Linked DNA regions of Homo sapiens: region 1 is linked to region 2. Evidence: promoter capture Hi-C in human tissues and cell types (Jung and others, 2019). All regions are on one chromosome and are shown on one strand. The core of a region is centred on a gene start or on the middle of the fragment in contact, and the rest is flanking DNA. Distances in the headings are between cores, read along the strand shown. Region 1 has its middle 4.3 kb from the start of OR4F6. Region 2 holds the start of SNRPA1 (small nuclear ribonucleoprotein polypeptide A').

Region 1 (4,063 bases), core at 1,333-3,832, 500 kb before region 2:
GGCTCAAGCAGATAGCTGTGTGCCACAGAGTGGCTCCCATCCTAATACTCTAGAGAGAACAGTTGGGAAGAAGAATCCCAGAAAAGATTAAAATTCTGCTTATCAAGCAGGGCAGAGAAATGAGACTGGGAAGAATATTGTGTAAGTGTGACACATTTGTATTCAGCAGGTCTTGCAGCCTGGTGTTTTGATTGTCTTAATTTTATTATTTTAACTTGATTCCAGTGTGCGTCTGTTGATTGGCGTGTGATGTTATTATTCCAGTGTGCATCTGTTGATTAGCATGTGATGTCATTTATTAAAATATTGAATGCCAAGATAAATATTTTACTTACTCCAAATACTATTATCTTTACTAGCCAAGGGTTACATCTACAAAATGAATTTGCCAATATGAGGAAGGTTTTACTTACAAATCTCTTAATTTGAATGCCCATGAAGAAAGCATACCAATATCTGCTGATTTTAGATCTTGCGTATTCCACCTACTGGTGCCTTATACAGCACAGATGCATGGTTAGTGTCTGCTATTACATATGGCATCTATGTTTATTAATTGCGGCCATAAGAAGTCATTAGGGTTTCAGAAAAAGCTTATTTCCCAATTAGTTCACTTGCCAATTGGCTCACTTAATAAGAGAGGATTCTATTGTAACCAAAGCAAATTCACAGAAAGCTTGTCTATTCTTCCAAAATGTATGCTGAATTCATCAACTTTTGTTTTCTTTTTTATGGTTTGCTGATATCCTTTTTTTGTTGCTGTTTACAAATAGTAACTAAAATTTCATATACATTTTTCCATATGTTGCCTGACTATATTATCTTCTGTGCTGCTTTTTTCAACTTTTACTTTAAAATAAGGGGGTACATGTGCAGTTTGTTACACAGGTATATTGCATGGTGCTGAGGTTTGGAGTATAAAGGAATCCATCACCCAGGAGGTAAGCATCTACCCAATAGTTTTTTTCAGCCCTCACCCTGTTCTCTCCATCCCCACTCTTGCATTCTTCAGTGGCTATTGTGTGTGTGTGTGTGTGTGTGTGTGTGTGTGTGTGACAGAGACTCACTCTGTCACCCAGGCTGTAGTGCAATGGTGCAATCTCGGGTTACTGAACCTCTGCCTCCCGGGTTCAAGCAATTTTCCTGCCTCTGCCTCCTGAGTAGCTGGGGTTACAGGTGTGTACCACTAGGCCTGGCTAATTTTTGTATTTTTAGTAAAGAAGGGTTTCACCATGTTGGCCAGGCTGGTCTCGAATTCTTGACCTCCCCCTGCCTTGGCCTCTGAAAGTGCCAGGATTACAGTCATGAGCTACCTCACCCAACTTTATTGTTCCCATTTTTATAACCATGTGTACACAATGTTTAGCTCCCACTCACAAGTGAGAACATGTGGTATTTGGTTTTCTGTTTCTGCAGTCATTCACTTAGGATAATGGCTTCCAGCTGCATCCATGTTGCTGCAAAGAACATGATTTTGTCCTTCATGGCTTCATAGTATCCCACAGTGTACATGTACCACATTTTCTTTAGCCAATCCACTGCTGATGGCACTGGGCATCGACATATTTTTAAGTCATCACATTCGTACTAATTTGATATGACAGCCTTTGGAAACTAATACAGAGATTAATCTGTCGTTAGAAGTAAAGTGGATTCAAGAAAGAGATTATATTTATTTGTTTTATGTTTTCAAGCTTAGAAGAGATGTGGCCATGTTTGAATACTGATATAAACAAACCAAAAGAAAGGATGGTTTAAAAATATAGCAGGGGGAGGGAGTAACTGAAAGAGCAAAAGTCCTGAAGAGGTGGCAGAGGATGAGATCTATAACTCAACCACAGAAAGGGCCCTGCATCCTGGGGATCCTGCCTTCACCTAACCAATCATATTCTCCCTCCTGGAAATTTGAAATTTGGGGTTCATAAATGCTGGTCAGATTCTGCTGGTCCCTTAAACTAAAGTGATGTAGCTACAGGGATGGGACACAGAAAGAAATACAAATGAGAGGCCCGCGACCTCGAGCATTGGAAGAAATAGTGGGTTTAGTTCCTTCTCCTTCTCCCATTCATGGTGCAGTTCCTGGTGGTTCTGCTCTAGAATTCCACCAAATACTTCTGTGTGAAGATGTCTCCTCTTCTCATATCTGTTACTTGCAACAAGAAGCTGTGACTAAGAAACTGACAGAATTTGGTTTGAACCCCAAATCAATCACTTTCTAGGTGTGTGACTTCTAGGCTGAGGCTTTCTCATTTATGAAGCAGGGATAGCAAAACCTACCTCATAGGTTTTATGTGTTTTTAATGAGAATACATATGAAGGCCCTGAAGTATAGTAGATATTTGGTTACTGTTAGTTCCCCTGGCCATTCCCTAGGGGTAACTTGAGGAAAGCAGAAAGCTCTGCCCAAATAGTTTATTTGATAGTTAATTGTGATAAGCACTTCACTTGGAAATGGATACTAAAGAAAATCTCACCATCAAAAATGGTTGTAGAGGAGTATAGAGAAGTTTTAAGCTCCTTTGGAAATCTGGGAATACATAAGGCATAACAAAAACTGAGGCATAATACAAGAGGACGTTTCCATACAAGGCTGCCAAATCACTGTCTCTTCCCCAAGGTCCCTGCCAATCATCCCTATCTCTGTTTCTGTTCCCTACCCCATCTCCAGACAGTTAAAAAATAAAAGCTCACCCAGTAACCTATCATAGATAGTCTATAAAGGTATCCTAGATTCTGTTTATTTAACCTAAGACACAGTTCTTAAATTGTACTTTCCATAAGAAGCAACATTATGATTCTAGCACTGGAGTTGGAACAGAATAACTTCATCCTCACATTAGGAGTAGTACGCAAGGTCTTCGAAGTTACACAAGGTCTTTAAAATTACCCAATGGCAGGATTCATGCAGTTGACATCACCACAGATCTGGGTTTTGCTGCTGCAAACAGGCTGACCTTAGCACAAGGATGACTGTGTCTCGGATCATACTCTACACAGCACCTAAAAGATGCAACAGGGAAACTTTAGGCAAAATGATAGGAAATCGTTTTACCTCTCCAGATTTTCTTTTCTAAATGAGGGCATAACAATGCCTGCTCCATATAATTTTTATGTATACATTAGATAGTGCCTGGCACACAGCACTTAATAAATGGTAGCCGAAAGGAGGAGAGAAGCCCTACTGGTTAAATATACTAGCTAAGGAGGAAGCGTTTTATATACACCAGAAAGAGCTGTGCTTGAAGCTTAGTGTTTTTTTCTTTAAGCTTTTGTTGGAGTACTTCGGACATGTCTAATGGTATAGAATCAAGAAGCAGTGTATCAAGTTTTGTATGAACTGGTTTAGGCAAGTTTGTCAGGCTGCCACAAGTTCAGCTTATGATTTCTTTTTTTTTTTTCCAGATGTTATTGGGGTACAGGTGGTATCTGGTTACATGAGTAAGTTCTTTAGTGGTGATTTGTGAGATTTTGGTGCACCCATCACCCGGGCAGTATACACTGCACCCTATTTGTAGATTTTTATCCCTCGCCCCTCTCCCATCCTTTCCCCCAAGTTCCCGAGTTCACTGTATTATTCTTACGCCTTTGCATCCTCATAGCGTAGCTCCCACATATCAGTGAGAACATATGATGTTTGGTTTTCCATTCCCGAGTTTACTTCACTTAAAATAATAGTTCCCAGTCTCATCCAGGTCACTGCAAATGCCATTAATTCAATACTTTTTATAGCTGAGTAGTATTCCATCACATATATATACCACAGTTTCTTTATCCACTTGTTGTTGATGGGCATTTGGGTTGATTCCATGATTTTGCCATTACGAATTATGCTGCTATAAACATGCATGTACAAGTATCTTTCTCATATAATGACACCTTTATCTCTATGTGCCCAGTAGTGGAATTGCTGGATCAAATGGTAGTTCTACATTTAGCTCTTTAAGGAATCTCCACACTGATTTTCATAGTGGCTGTACTAGTTTACATGCCCACCAGCAGTGTATAAGTGCTCCCTGATCAACACATCCACACCAACATCTGGTTTTTTTAATGTTTTGATTAT
Region 2 (4,439 bases), core at 1,294-3,793:
TATATTTTTTAAAGTTCTCAATTGTGTTAGTAATTAGGGAAATACAGTTAAAACCACAATTTCATACCATTACCTATCTACCAGAATGGCTAAGATTAAAAAGACAATACTAAACGTTAGCAAGGAGTTTAAGTTGGCAACCACTTTGGAAAACTATGTCCTACTTAAGCTGAACATAAGTAAGCCCTATGACCCAGTAATTCCATCCCTGGGAGTATATCAGTATATGTGTTCACATAAAGATATATATTATTGAGTTTGTAGGTACACTATTTATAATATAAAAGAGTGAAAATTACCCAAATGTTCATCAACAGCAGAATGGATAAGTAAATTGTAAAACATCCACAATGAAATACCATATTACAGTGAGAATAGATTAACTACATCTACACACAAACATAATGTTTAGCAAAAAATATGCAAGGTACTTCATTTGCATAAATACAAAACTAGATAAAGCAAATCTATACAAGATGGCAGGATAATGGTTACCCTTGGGGCAAGGGTGGTGACTAGATGAAGACAGGAGGAGGGCTTCTGGAATGTGGCAATGTCCTGTTCTTACGAGGATGCTAGTTGGTTGGGTGTGTTCAGTTTGCATTCTTCTATATGTATATCATACTTCAATAAAAGTTCAAGGAGAATCATCTCCGGGTGGATTGCAGAACTAAATGTGAAAAGCAAAACAATCGTCTAGTAGACCACATAGGAAAATATGATGGGGGTAAGGGAAGATTTCCTAAGGCACATGCACATGCACACACACCCAATCCACTAACCTAAAGAAAATAATTGAACTACATAAAACTTGGAAACTTCTCAGCCAGGCGAGGCGGCTCACGCCTGTAATCCCAGCACTGTGGGAGTCTGAGGCAGGTGGATCACTTGAGCTCAGGAGTTGGAGACCAGCCTGGGCCACATATCAAAACCTTGTCTCTACAAAAAATACAAAAGTTAGCCAGGCCTGTTGACCTGTGCCTATAGTCCCGGCTATTTGGGAGGCTGAGGTGGGAGGATCTCTTGAGCCTGAGAGGTCAAGGCTGCAGTGAGTCCTGATGGCACCACTGCACTCCGGCCTAGGTGACAGAGTGAGACCCTGTCTAAAAAAAAAAAAAAAAAAAAAAAAAAAAAATCTAATCATCAACACCATTAAGAGTGAAAAGGCAAGCCACAGAGTGTGTTCATATCCCTAATATATAAAGAAATTCCACAAATCAATAAGAAAAAAGGCAGACAACTCCATAAGGAAAAAAAAAAAATGAGCCAGGGACTCGAAAGAACACTTAACCAAGGAAGCTATCAGAATGGGCACCATACACATGAGAAGGTTCTCAGCTTCATTAGTTATTAGAGAAAAGCAAAGCAAAGCAGTAGTGCAATACCACCACACACCCATCAGAATAGCTGAAGTTATAGAGTTAAAATGCCAAGAAGGCTGAAGCTGGAAGCCATGAAAACCCTTACACACCGCTGGAGTGTGTATATTATTTCAGCCTCTTAGCATAACTGTTGGGCATTACTTATTGATGATAGATATACCCTATGTCCCAGCAGTCCCACTCCAGGACAAACTCATGCAAACGTGCATCAGAACCACGTACCAGAAAATTCATAGTAGCATTACTCAGAATAGCCCTAACTGAAAACAACTTTGATGTCTATCAACAGCAGAATAAGTAATTTATGGTATAATATATACAATGGAATTCTCTTCAGCAGCAAAAGCAAACAAACCATCTCTGTATGCAACCTGGATGGACTCCAGACATAATATAGACTCCATGAAACTAGGCCAAAAAAAAAAGCATACTGCATGATTCTATTTATAGCAAAAGCAAGCAAACCGAATTTGTAGTGTTGAGTTCGCGGTTGCCTTTTGGGAAAGAGGGAGGCTTTCAGAATAGCGGTGTTTTGGATCCCGGTGTCGGCTACGCAGCTGTGTTCACTCTGGTCATTAATCACTGTAAATTCCTGATATGCACACTTTTATGTATATCACATTTCATACATATGAATATTCAGAAGTCTAAAGGTCACAAGCTTAACCGCAAACCCTACCGTGCCCGAGGCCGGGCTGGACTTGCGGGGCGGTGGGGTTGTCCCGGCGACCTGCCCCAGGCGGGCCACCTAGCCCGGGATCTCACACTGTAGCCCGGAGCCAAGGCCCAGGCCCGGGGCGGGCACCTGAACTGCTGGACCCTTCACTGAACCCCACGGGTTCCCGCGACGGCTGGTGGAGGGAGGACAGTCACCGCTTCCCCTCCCACCTCGAGGTGCGCTAATGCATGAGAAAGTTCCCCTCGGGTGTTTCCACATTCGCCTTAACTTTTAAACACCAACGTCTGGAATCAGGGGTCCTCCAGACTCCGAAACACACCCTAGGAAACAACCCAGAACGAGACACATCCCCTGTGCGCGCGCCACGACTTCCGGCAAGAACGCCCCCGGAGGCGTGGCTCTTCGATTGCTTCGGCCTGGCGGTCGAGCTGCGCGCGCACTCGGCGGCTGCGATTGGTGCTGCCTGGCGGCGGGGCGCGGGGCACGCTGGGACGTCTCGCTGGCGGGAGGCCACGGGCTTTCCACAGCGCGGGGGAACGGGAGGCTGCAGGATGGTCAAGCTGACGGCGGAGCTGATCGAGCAGGCGGCGCAGTACACCAACGCGGTGCGCGACCGGGAGCTGGACCTCCGGGGTGAGTCCGGGGGCGTGGGCGGCCAGTCCCCAGGCGGCACCGAGCCGCCTTATTTTCCGCGCTTTGCCGCGTGCACCGAAGGCCGGAGCTTGGCCCGCGGGCCGGTTGTCTGGGCTCCGACCGGGCTGCGCAGGGAACGCCGGGCCTGATTCTTGCCGTTGTTGCCAGATGAGCATCCGGTTAAGCTCCTGGGAGCCTTCTGTTAGCGCCGTGCCTCTTGACAGGCACGGGTGACTTCATTACTTCCTGGTGCGTCCTCGTGGGGCCCTGTTAGGCCTTGCTTGGCTGTTTCGCCGCTGGCTGTTTGAGGGCCCGGAAGAGCGGCTCATTAATGGTTGTAACGCAAGTGCAGGGCGCGGGATTGGTTCTTAATACTTGCCGCCAGATGATATTTTGAGCGTAGATAGGATATGTGTTCATTATTCCTAATGTGAGGGAGGAAACTAAGTCCCCGAACAACCGCGATTGTTTCCTCCAGTATTTTCTACTTAGTAGCTTTAATTGTCTGGCGTTTCCCCTATATGAAGACGTTTTAAAAATTGAACTGTGTCACCCAGGCTTGCACCGCCGGGTGCTGTGTGTAAGTTGTGGAAGCGCTCGCAATTATTCAGATTCCTGTACTATTTCAACCTTAGCAAGACTTGGTAAGATACTGGGAGGGCAGCTAGCTAGTTGGCATTTCAGGAGACGGCTTTAAAAGGGACGTGATAGAGCAACTTCTCTGAGGATAAGACCATGCTGTCGTAGCCTGAGATTTGTTCCCATGGGGACCTATGGCCTCGGAGCAGCATCGCTGCGGGATCTGCTTAGATTTCTTGCCGACCTTTGGGAAATCCCACTGTTTTGTGTTGTGTTGTGTTGAGATGGAGTCTCGCTCTTTCCGCCCCAGCTGGAGCGCAGTGGCGTGATCTCGGCTCACTGCAACCGCCGCCTCCCCGGTTCAGGTGATTCCTGTGTCTCAAGCCTCCCGAGTAGCTGGGAATACAGGCATGCGCCACCACGCCCGGCTAATTTTTTGTATTTTTAGTAAAGACATGGTTTCTCCATGTTGGTCAGGCTGGTCTCGAACTCCCGACCTCAGGTGATCCGCCCGCCTTGGTCTCCCGAAGTGCTGGGATTACAGGCTTGAGCCACTGCGCCCGGCCCAACTCACCACTTTTGATGATCTCTGCCATTTCTCTTTATGGAGCATGTGCAGTGTTGAGAATACGTATTTTGATGCAGTACGTGTAGTACAGCTCTGAATTGTGTCCTTTAACTTTGGGTAAGTTCTTTTTTTAGTAGACCTTGCTTCTTCGGAATATTTCTTTTCTTATAGTGCCTAACACAATAATTATGCCCAAATTAGACAAATTAACATTTGAGTGTTCACAGATTTATTACTGTATTTAAACCATTGATCTTCAATTCTGAATTGGAGCTGGGGGAGGGGAGGGAGAACTGTCGTGATATGTTGAGGCTGTTCTGATGGGTTCTAAGAATCTGGCCTGTGGAGATGCAAGAGTGGAGAACTGTCGTCCACAATGTTTGAACGCCGTTTGGGCACTGAGACTAAGCAGCTCCAAGTGTAAACTCCTGTTGTGCCGATTCCGCTTAACTAGCCCAAACGACTTAGGACAGTGTGAGGCACCTTGTAAATGTTCTTATAAATGTTAGCTGCCTATATCAGCCATTGTTATTGTCCTTGTCCTTGTTGTCATCAGATTCTAAGCTTCATGGCACTGGGGACTTGAGACTCGTTCAGC

The links. Contacts are between HindIII fragments. The study calls those that stand out against the background at their distance.
Region 1: a contact is called between a fragment that was not itself captured here and the fragment with the promoter of SNRPA1 in region 2, in 3 of the 25 tissues and cell types used here (IMR-90 fibroblasts, aorta and lymphoblastoid cells).

Annotation. Positions count from the first base shown.
Region 1 is chr15:101,797,146-101,801,208 of GRCh38, reverse strand. No RefSeq gene overlaps it. Among named protein-coding and RNA genes, the nearest start is that of OR4F6, 4.3 kb to the left of the region's middle. The HindIII fragment of the contact is 5,482 bases long and covers 1-4,063 here.
Region 2 is chr15:101,293,352-101,297,790 of GRCh38, reverse strand. It overlaps SNRPA1 (small nuclear ribonucleoprotein polypeptide A'), which reads left to right and starts at 2,543. Exons shown (of 9, transcript NM_003090.4): 1 at 2,543-2,694. The coding sequence starts at 2,613. SNRPA1-DT (SNRPA1 divergent transcript) reads right to left here and starts at 2,443. Exons shown (of 2, transcript NR_186319.1): 1 at 2,062-2,443. RefSeq lists enhancers at 2,195-2,284, 2,345-2,394, 2,958-3,589 and a silencer at 2,625-2,814. The HindIII fragment of the contact is 7,299 bases long and covers 864-4,439 here.